Regions from separate parts of the Homo sapiens genome. Here region 2 is linked to region 1. The links are contacts of gene promoters, found by promoter capture Hi-C in blood cells and fetal thymus (Javierre and others, 2016). All regions are on one chromosome and are shown on one strand. The core of a region is centred on a gene start or on the middle of the fragment in contact, and the rest is flanking DNA. Distances in the headings are between cores, read along the strand shown. Region 1 holds the start of ZNF433 (zinc finger protein 433). Region 2 overlaps ZNF791 (zinc finger protein 791).

Evidence for each region. Contacts are between HindIII fragments. The CHiCAGO score rates a contact against its expected background, and 5 or more counts as called.
Region 2: a fragment that was not itself captured here is called in contact with the fragment with the promoter of ZNF433 in region 1 in 3 of 17 cell types (megakaryocytes, erythroblasts and endothelial precursors); the score reaches 8.3 in megakaryocytes.

Annotation. Positions count from the first base shown.
Region 1 is chr19:12,032,987-12,038,306 of GRCh38, forward strand. It overlaps ZNF433 (zinc finger protein 433), which reads right to left and starts at 2,693. Exons shown (of 4, transcript NM_001308348.2): 1 at 2,551-2,693. The coding sequence starts at 2,553. It overlaps ZNF433-AS1 (ZNF433 and ZNF878 antisense RNA 1), which reads left to right. Exons shown (of 3, transcript NR_134929.1): 2 at 2,568-2,786. RefSeq lists silencers at 2,228-2,347, 2,358-2,407, 2,648-2,807. The HindIII fragment of the contact is 7,472 bases long and covers 1,739-5,320 here.
Region 2 is chr19:12,631,016-12,636,335 of GRCh38, forward strand. ZNF791 (zinc finger protein 791) reads left to right here. Exons shown (of 4, transcript NM_153358.3): 4 at 1-2,819. It overlaps LOC105372279 (a long non-coding RNA gene), which reads right to left. Exons shown (of 4, transcript XR_007067142.1): 4 at 2,124-3,473. Among named protein-coding and RNA genes, the nearest start is that of ZNF791, 23 kb to the left of the region's middle. The HindIII fragment of the contact is 1,798 bases long and covers 1,225-3,022 here.

The DNA.
Region 1 (5,320 bases), core at 1,443-3,942:
TCACATGGGACATTTCTCTGTGCCCATCCTGCTCACTGAAGTGCTGAGTGACTATTTTCCAACAACACTGCACTGTGCCCCTGTGTGCCCCAAGTGCATTTCCTTTTTTTTTTTTCCCCTCTCTTGAGACAGAGTCTCACTCACTTGCCCAGGCTGGAGTGCAGTGGTGCGATGTCCGCTCATTGCAGAATCCACCTCCCAGGTCCAAGCAATTCTCAGGCCTCAGCCTCTGGAGTAGCTGGGACTACAGGTGTGTGCCATCACACCTGGCTGATTTCTTTTGTATTTCTAGTAGAGCCAAGGTTTCACCATATTGGCCAGGCTGGTCTCAAACTCCTGGCCTCAAGTGATCTACCCACCTCAACCTCCCAAAGTGTTGGGATTATAGGCATGAGCCACTGCACCTGGCCAGTGCATTTTCATTTACGAGGCTGAGGCAGGAGAATGGCATGAACCCGGGAGGTGGAGCTTGCAGTGAGCAGAGATTGTGCCACTACACTCCAGCCTGGGCGACAGAGCGAGACTCCGTCTCAAAAAAACAAAAACAAAAAACGGGCCAGGCGCAGTGACTCACACCTGTAATCCCAGCACTTTGGGAGGCCAAGGCGGGTGGATCACAAGGTCAGGAGATCAAGACCATCCTGGCTAACACAGTGAAACCCCGTCTCTACTAAAAATACAAAAAATTAGCCAGGCGTGGTGACGGGCTCCTGTAGTCCCAGCTACTTGGGAGGCTGAGTCAGGAGAATGGCGTGAACCCGGGAGGCGGAGCTTGCAGTGAGTAGAGATCGCGCCACTGCACTCCAGCCTGGGTGACAGAACAAGACTCTGTCTCCAAAAAAAAACAAAAACAAAAACAAATAGTTGATACTACAAATTGAAGAAGGAGAGTTGGTGTCTGCAAATTTTAGAAAGGAACTGAAATTTTAGTATTGTACTGCAAGCTCTCCAGAGGTAGGCCAGGGTCACAGGGTGGAGGGTTTGAGATCTCACTTCCCATATATTTGGAAAATGCAGAGAAGTACCAGTTAACTGGGGAGTGTTGAAAATTTTGAATAAGAAGTAATTAAACTTAATGCCTATAGTACTCTAAGATCTTGGCCAAGAACATGGAAATCAAATTCAAATGCTATTCATATAAAGTACTAACTTATGTGACGGTATGTGGCCTGAGAAAACAATAACAAGTTACTAATTTATTGGGAAATGAAATATGGGCTTAACCAGGTACAATTGGTCGAGTAACCTCTGATTATACAACCAAAAATTTTCCACTGTATGGTCTGTGAAAATAAGTAATTCAAAAATTGAAGCTGTTGGAACTCTAAATTATCTTGAAGTTTAAAGTAATGTGACTCTGGAATTGAGTCACCTGACACTGGAAAGAGCCAGCTGGAACCCTCCCACACTTGACTACAGATTAACCATCAGACAGGCTTCACTATACCTGGACAGGCCTCATTATACCCGCTTCCTTTAGGAGTTTCCACATAGCCACTGACCCACCTTCATGTTAAAACAGACATCAGCCAACTGGAAACACAGACTCTCTGTGACAATAAGAAACCAAATTACAAACAAGACCTAAGGCCATGCAAGGCAAGAGGTAAGTCAAATCTTAGAATTCACAAAATCTAAAGAAACAGGTCTTTTGTTTTGGGTGGGATGAAATCATATGACAGATACCAGACCCTCTTCACTTAAGCAATCCTTCCTACCGCCTCGAAGTTTTAGACAAAGCTTCACACTCTCCACCAACGGCCACCTTCAGAATCCCTCAACCACCTGCACCTTCTAACCCCCCTTCCACAGGTCCCGCCCTTTCTGCCAAAGGAACTTACACCTTTCCAGGCATTGATGCATGATTCTCCCTGCAATTCCTGTCTCCCTGAAATGAATAAAAACAGTCTTGAGCCGCCTCGGGACCACTTACTTCAGGCCTCCTGGGGTTGTGTTTTCCTCAGCTGAGGCCTCTCCTATTCGGCTCTGAATAAACTTCTTTAAGTTATTTTACACAGCTTGGCATTTTCCGTTAACAAATTACAAGCCAGGACTGGGTGTTTATCATTCAGGAATCTCAAAGGAACTCTAATTATTAATATATTTTTTAAAACCTATTCTGAGAAGCAAAACTATAATTGTTAACGTGTCTCAGTTTAATTTTTAAGAGGAGAAAGGCGCTACTGGGGACCCCACAGCCCACCCTCCTCCTACACAAACCCCCACACCCGAGGCGGGATCCCCCCATGACCCTCGCGTAGTCCCCGCACAATGTGGGGAGACGCGGGGCAGCGGGCGCGGAGCTGCCCAGAGAGGGCTCTGGGAACTGGGTGACAGTCACCGCGCAGGGACAGGACGAGACGCCCGGGTCCCGGCGGCCGGCCCAGCCCCACTGTGGGGCCAAGGGGACCAAGGGCCGAGCTGTCCCACGGGAAATCGGGTCCCAGACCCCGGAGTCGCCGCGGGGAGGCCCGGGTCCCACCACAGCCGGTTCCGGCCGGTTCCAACCAGCTCCTCCCCCGCCTCGGGACCCCTGGCCCGCACGCTCACCATTTCTTGCCTTTCAGGTGACTCCCACGACCAGTGCGGGTCACAGCACAGGCGACAGAAGCTATGGCAGAGGCACCTGAACCCTCTCGGAGGGGAAAGCCAGGCTCCCAACCTCAGCTCGCCGCCTGGAGCCGGGAACCGAGGAGAGCAGGGCCTTCGCCCTCCCCGATGGACACTCGGCAGGCCCCGCCCAGCGCCCCTGATTGGACGAAGCGCCGGGCCCCGCCCCCTCAGCCGTGAGTGACAATAGAAGCCCTTGGTAACGGGGCTCTGAAAACGGGTTTGACCGGATCCAGCGATAGATTCTTTAAGCCAGAGGTCTGTAACCTTTTTAGCACCAGAACCGGTTTCGTGGAAGACAGTTCTCCTACGGGGGCAGATAGTTTCGGAATGAAACTTCCACCTCAGATCAGGCATTTTATCCTCATAAGGCGAACCCAACCTAGATCCCTCGCATGTGCAGCTCACAATAGGGTTCGGGCTCCTATGACAGACTAATGCCTCTGCTGATCTGACAGGAAGCATATCTCTGGCGATAATGCCCGCTGGCTCGCCCGCCAGCCGCTCACCTCCTGCTGTGCGGACTGGTTCCTTACAGGCCATGGACCGGGGGTTGGGGACCCCTGCCATAGAGTACTGTTGAATAGAAACTTTAGCTCGTCCGGCGGTGGGCTGGGGGGGTGGGGGTAGCTCATGCCTGTAACCCCACCACTTTGGGAAGCCAAGGCAGGCAGATTGCTTGAGCCTAGGAACTTAAGCCCAGCCTGGGTAACATAGCAAAACCCCGCCTCTACAAAAAATACAAAAATTAGTCGGGCGTGGTGGTACATGTTTGCAGTCCCAGCTACTCGGAAGGCTGAAATGAGAGGATCGCCTGAGCCCAGAGAGGTCGAGGCCACAGTGAGCTGTGATTTTACCAGCCTGGATGTCAGAGTGAGACCCTGTCTCCGAAAAAAAAAAAAAAAAAAAAGACAGGGAATTGCAGTGGAGTTTAATATACATAGAGCCGGCTAAATGAAAGAGAAGAGTTTTATTTTTATTCAATTCTGTCTCCCTAAAAAATGGGAGGCTAGGTTTTGTTTTTTTGGTTTTTTTTTGAGACGGAATCTCTCTGTCGCCCATGCTGGAGTGCAGTGGCGCAATCTCGGCTCAGTGCAACCTCCGCCTCCCGGGTTCAAGCGATTCTCCTGCCTCAACCTCCTGAGTAGCTGGGATTACAGGCATGCGCCACCATGCCCGGCTAATTTTTGTATTTTTAGTAGAGACGGGGTTTACCATGTTGGTCAGGCTGGTCTCAAACTCCTGACCTCATGATCCACCCGCCTCGGCCTCCCAAAGTGCTGGGATTACAGGCCTGAGCCCCCGCACCCGGCCGAGGCTAGGGTTTTAAAGATAATTTGGTGAGCAGAAGGCTGGAAAATGGGGAATGCTGATTGGTCGCGAAAAGGATATCACAGGAAGTCTCAGCTGTCTTCTTGCACTGAGTCAGTTCTTGGCTAGGGGCCACTGGAGCAGGTGAGCCAGTTTATTGGTCTGTGTGATGCCAGCAAATTTATCAGAATGAAGGGTCTCAAAAATACCTCAAACACCAATCTTAGGTCTTACAACAATAATATTATCCACAGGAGCAAGTGAGAAGGTTGGGAATCTTGTGTACTCTGGCCGCATATTTCCTGAACCATAATTTCTAATCTTGTGGCTAATTTCTTAGTTTTACAAAGGCAATCTGGTTCCCAAGCAAGGAGACAATTTCTTTACGGAAGCGGCAGTTATGACTTTTGCTTTAAAGCTAAACTAAACTCCTTCCAATATTAGTAAGACCTATACCCGGGAATGAACAAGGGTAGCTTGGAGGCTAAAGAAAAGATGGAGTTCGCTTAGATCTGATCTCTTTCACTGTCATAATTTTCTCACTGTTATAATTCTTGCAAAAGGGTTTTCAGATGTAGAGTCATACTTTTAGCTCCTGGCAACATTTATGTTGGAACTCTTATACAGCAACTAAATCACTGGAACAGGATAATTGGTTGAGGATTTACTAACTGCTCCATCAGGTGGAAGTGGCACTCCTTACTAATTTACCTGAAAGCACTATTTCCTGAGCCATGGAGACTGAGTATAGCAATGATATGTGATCTAAAGAAGTTCCCACTCTGCTTCTTCTCTGCAGTGAAGTCCTGCCAGGCACGTTACTACTTCCACTGCCACTTTTTCCTCCTCCAAATGTGGCTAAGCAATTACTTCCCTTATGGAAGACTGTACAAAGATGAAAACATGGCTAGGTTGATGGGGTCACTCTGAGACAAGGTAGACTTATGTTATACTTTTTGCAAAGGTGACTTCAGATATGGAATCATAATTTTAGCTGCTGGCAGCAATGATGTTGGAATTCATATACAGACACTAAATGACTGGAAAAGGACAATTGGTTGAAGGTTTACTAATTGTTCCCTCAAGAGGAAGTGCCATTCCCTATTGATTTAATTGACAGCACTATTTCCTCAGCCATGGAAACTGAGTACAGCAATAATATGTGATCTAAAGAACATTCCACTCTGAGGGCCAGATGCAGTGGCTCATGCCTATAATCCCAACATTTTAGGAGGCCAAGGCAGGCAGATCACGTGAGGTCAGGAGTTAAAGACCAGCCTTGCCAACACAGTGAAACCCCATCTCTACTAAAATCACACAAATTAGCTGGGTGTGGGCTGGGTTTGGTGGCTCACACCTGTAATCCCAGCACTTTGGGAGGTCGAGGTGGGCAGATCAT
Region 2 (5,320 bases), core at 874-3,373, 600 kb after region 1:
TGGGCCTTCGCATTCACTCACCACTCAACTGACTCACCCAGAGCAACTTCTAGTCCTGCAAGCTATGTTCATGGAGTGTCCTATGCAGGTGCATCCTTTTTTATCTTTTATACTGCATGTTTACTCTGTGTATTTTCTGTGTTTAGACTCATAAATACTTAACATTTTGTTACAATTTCCTACAGTGTTCAGTACAACAACATGTTGTATGGTTTATAGCCTAGTAGCAATAGACTGTACCATATAGTCTAGATGTGTTGTAGCTATACCATCTAGATTTGTGTAAGTTCACTTTGTGATGTTTGTACCATGAGGAAATCACCTACAACACGTTTCTCAGAACATATACCCATGATTAAGCAATCTCTGCCTGTAAAATGCTCCAGAAAATTCACACCATGATATAAATTCATCACACACGATATAAAAGTTAAGGCAAGGCATGGTGGCTCATGCCTGTAATCCCAGCACTTTGGGAGGCCAAGGCAGGCAGATCACCTGAGGTCAGGAGTTCGAGACCAGCCTGGCCAAGACGGTGAAACCCCATCTCTACTAAAAATACAAAAATTACCTGAGCGTGGTGGCATGCACCTGTAATTCCAGCTACTTGGGAGGCTGAAGCAGGAGAATCATTTGAACCTGGGAGGTGGAGGCTGCAGTGAGCTGAGATTGTGCCACTACACTCCAGCCTGGGCAACAGAGCAAGACTCCATCCCACACACCAAAAAAAAGTTAAAAATTTTTTATCACTGGCTCATTCTTCAAGTACATCTCTGGACTATGAATTGTAACTTAACTACTTTTCCAAGAAGTCTTGGAAGTGAGATAATTCTGTAAGTACTCTTTAAGCAGTGGTCAAAAGTTTAAAAGGTTGTGTTTTCTCATTAAATCAGTTAGTAAAACTTTTCTCTTTCTCTTGATGTCTTGATTCATGAGTAAACTGAAGTGTATTTTTTTTTTTTCGAGACGGAGTCTTGCTCTGTTGCCCAGGCTGGAGTTCAGCGGTGTGATCTCGGCTCACTGCAAGCTCCGCCTCCCGGGTCCACGCCATTCTCCTGCCTCAGCCTCCCCAGTAGCTGGGACTGCAGGCGCCCGCCACCATGCCCAGCTAATTTTTTTTGTATTTTTAGTAGAGATGGGGTTTCACCGTGTTAAGCCAGGATGGTCTCAATCTCCTGACCTCGTGATTCGACCGCCTCAGCCTCCCAAAGTGCTGGGATTACAAGCTTGAGCCACCGCACCCGGCCTGAAGTGTATTTTTTTTTTCTTTTAAAGACCAGTGTTAGTAGAAGTGTATTTTTAATATACAATTAGTTTTAATTTGTGTATAGTTTTTCAGTTGTTCTCTGAATAAAGAGATTGTTGAATACTGACACACTGTAACTAGGATTTTTCCTACTGGCCTCATGTGGAAGGTGGTGCATATATTACCCATTATATATTTATTTCACCTTTTCCGAAAAACTGCTTTTTAAATTTCTTGGCCAGACACGGTGGCTCACTCCTTTGTAATTCCAGCACTTTGGGAAACCAAGGCAAGCAGATCACTTGAGGTCAGGAGTTCGAGACCAACCTGGCCAACATGGTGAAATCCCATCTCTACTAAAAATACAAAAATTAGCTGGGCATGTTGGAGGGCACCTGTAATCTCAGCTACTTGGGAGGCTGAGGCAGGAGAAATGCTTGAACCTGGAAGTCAGAGGTTGCAGTGAGCCAAGATCACACCACTGCACTCCAGCCTGGACAACAGAACGAGACTCCATATCAAAAAAATTAAATTAAAATATAATAAATTTCTTGCCGGGCGCAGTGGCTCACACCTGTAATCCCAGCACTTTGGGAGGCCGAGGTGGGCGGATCACGAAGTCAGGAGATTGAGACCATCCTGGCTAATACAGTGAAACCCCGTCTCTACTATAAATACAAAAAATTAGCTGGGCATGGTGGCGGGCGTCTGTAGTCCCAGCTACTCAGGAGTCTGAGGCAGGAGAATGGTGTGAACCCGGGAGGCGGAGCTTGCAGTGAGCCGAGATCGTGCCACTGCAATCCAGCCTGGGCAGCAGAACGAGACTCCATCTCAAATAAATAAATAAATAAAATGAATTTCAGCTAGAAGAGCCTTATTCCATTTTCCTTTTTATTAAACATCTGGCATAAGTTGGTAAGTATGTGAAGTTTATCATATATTCTTATGCGAATTATTATTTTCGCCTTTTTTTTATAATTCTGTCTGGGATTTGAATAGTAGAGTTTGAATTCAGGAAGGACACCTGTGATAGGACAATAAAATCTAGAGCTGGACGTGGCCCTCCTGCTACCTGTCGACACAGGTAAATTTCCTAGAATCTGTTCCCTTTATAGATCCATGTTGAAATTCACTTATAGCCTCACTTGCATGAGATTTGCCAGGCAGAAGTGAAGAAGACATTAGTCAGGTATTGGAACCCCACCATACAGGGAGACAGCCTGCTTCCTGCTCATTTTCCTGGTTATTTTCTCTGCCAATCAAAAGTATCCTGAAAACACCCTGAGCTGCTTGACTTCCATTCTCAAAGAGATGTGTTGGTTTCCACAGTTGTCTCCACAAGCTCCGCATCAAAGATCCACGTACAGTTTGGATTTTCCTTCTAGCCTTCATGTGTGGCCCAAGCATCTATTTCAGACTGTCATGGTTGGCATTGTTCTCTGAGGTTCTGTCTTCCCTTTGTGTTTCTATGAGCTTTAATTTGTATGGTTCTTGTTCTGTTAATGCCACTAGGGACTATGTATTCCTGATTCCACCATGACAGCTACAGTAAAACAGTAAAAAAAAAAAAAAACAACTATATGGGAGTTTGTTCTCTTACTGCATTATACAGTGACTACTCTCCCCCATCCTTCCATTTGAGAATAATCACCTTCCTCATATCAGACAAATTGTGGGTGTTTCCAACTATTCCTGAATATTCTCCATCGGTTTATTTTCATTTATGTTTGGTTGTATGCAACTAAAATAATGCATTTTTTATTTATTTGAAGCAAAAGCTTCTTAGATGTTTCTTAGAAATATTTTGTTAACTGTTTCCAAACAACATGTATACTATCAAATATTATCATCATCTGGGTGCAGTGGCTCATGGCTGTAATCCCAACAATTTGGGAGGCTGAGGCAGGATTGCTTGAGGCCTGAAGTTGGAGACCAGCCTGGGCAACATAGTAAGACCCCATCTCTATTAGTTCAAAAACAAATAATTGTCTTCCCCGTTTCCTGAAAGGCTATATTAAAATATCCCATTACAGTTATGAATATTCAGATCAACTTTGTCATTTTGTCAAGATACATTCTGACTCAATATTAGCATGTGCATAAATGTTCTGGTATTTTTCCCTTAGATGTTTTTTATTCTTATACTTACATTTTGTCATAAAACAAAATTCTCTTCAAAACAGTGGTATTTTCAGTGCCCTATTGCCAGCAATCACCACGGTCACACCTGTATTCAGAATTAATTATGGTAATACAGTAGTCAATTCTGATCCAAAGTTTTGCTTTCTGTGGTTTTAGTCACTCATGGTCAAACACAGTCCAAAAATACTTAGTGGAAAATTCCAGAAATAAATGTTTCATAGACTTATTTATTTATTTATTTATTTGAGACAGAGTCTCACTCTGTCGCCTAGGCTGGAGTGCAATGGCGCGATCTCAGCTCACTGAAACCTCTGCCTCCGAGGCTCAAGCAATTCTCCTGCCTCAGCCTCCCGAGTAGCTGGGATTACAGGCATGTGCCAACATGCCCAGCTAATTTTTGTATTTTTGGTAGAGATAGGGTTTCACCATGTTGGTCAGGCTGGTCTGGAACTCCTAGCCTCAGGTGATCCACCCACCTCAGCCTCCCAAAGTGCTGGGATTCCTCCCATCTTACACATGAAAAAACAGAGGCAGAGAGAGCACAGGGTCTTTCCCAAACTCATGTAAATCAGAATTATAGAGTCTCAAAGTTTTGAAGTTCTAGTGTGTTCCACCACCTGTCAAACTTTTTTTTTTTTTTTGAGATGAGGTCTTGCTCTATCACCCAGGCTAGATTGCAGCGGTGCGATCATAGTTCACTGTCACCTTGACTTCTGGGGAGTGATCCTCCTGCCTCAGCCTCCCAAGTAGTTGGGACTGCAGGTGCATGCTTCCATAAGCGGACTTAGAAAATTTGAATGAGGCCGTACTGGGTGCCTCATGCCTGTCATCTCAACACTTTAGGAGGCTGAGGTGGGAGGATGGTTTGTGCCCAGGAGTTCCACGTGGCAGTGAGCTGTGATTACACCACTGCACAGCAACCTGGGCGACAGTGAGGCTCAGTCGTGTTGAAAAAAGAAAAGACAGAGAGAGAAAGAAAAGAAAAAGAGAGAAAGAAAGAAAAAGAAAGGAAAGAGAAAGAAAGCAAAAGAAAGAAAAGCAGAGATATGAGAGAAGGAAGGAAGGAAGGGAAGGAGAAAAAAGGAAAAAAAAAAAGAACTGAGACCCCATCTCTACAAAAGTAAAAAATTAGCTGGGTGTGGTGGGGCACACCTGTGATTCCAGCTACTCCAGAGGCTGAGGTGGGAGGATGGCTTGAGCCCAAGAGTTCGAGCCTGCAGTGAGCCATGATCATGCCACTGCACTCAGACCTGGGTGACACAGTTCATGTCAGCCACCTTCCAAAACAGGCAAGAATGCTATGTGTGTCATAGCCTATAATTTGTACCACATTAAGGTTGCTTTGATCTAGGGCAGAACTTATGAGTCCTTTTTTTTTTTTTTTTTTTTTTTGAGAAGGAGTCTTGCTCTGCCACCCAGGCTGGAGTGCAGTGGCGCGATATTGGCTCACTGCAAGCTCCGCCTCCTGGGTTCACGCCATTCTCCCACCTCAGCCTCCTGAGTAGCTGGGACTATAGGCACCCGCCACCATGCCTGGCTAATTTTGTTTTTATATTTTTAGTAGAGATGGGGTTTCACCGTGTTAGTCAGGATGGTCCCGATCTCCTGACCTCGTGATCCGCCCGCCTCGGCCTCCCAAAGTGCTGAGATTACAGGCGTGAGCCACTGCACCCGGCCAAAGCACCATTCTCTAAAATCCCCACCAAGCCTTTGTCTCCTTGCAGTTAGCTCCTCTCTGGGTGTGCTGCCTGGTGGAACCCTGTAATGTATTTTCTTTCTTTCTTTCCTTTTTTTTTTTTTTTTTTTTTTTTTGAGACGGAGTCTCACTCTGTCGCCCAGGCTGAAGTGCAGTGGTGCGATACCGGCTCACTGCAACCTCCGCCCCCCGGGTTCAAGCGATTCTCCTGCCTCAGCCTCCCGAGTGGCTGGGAT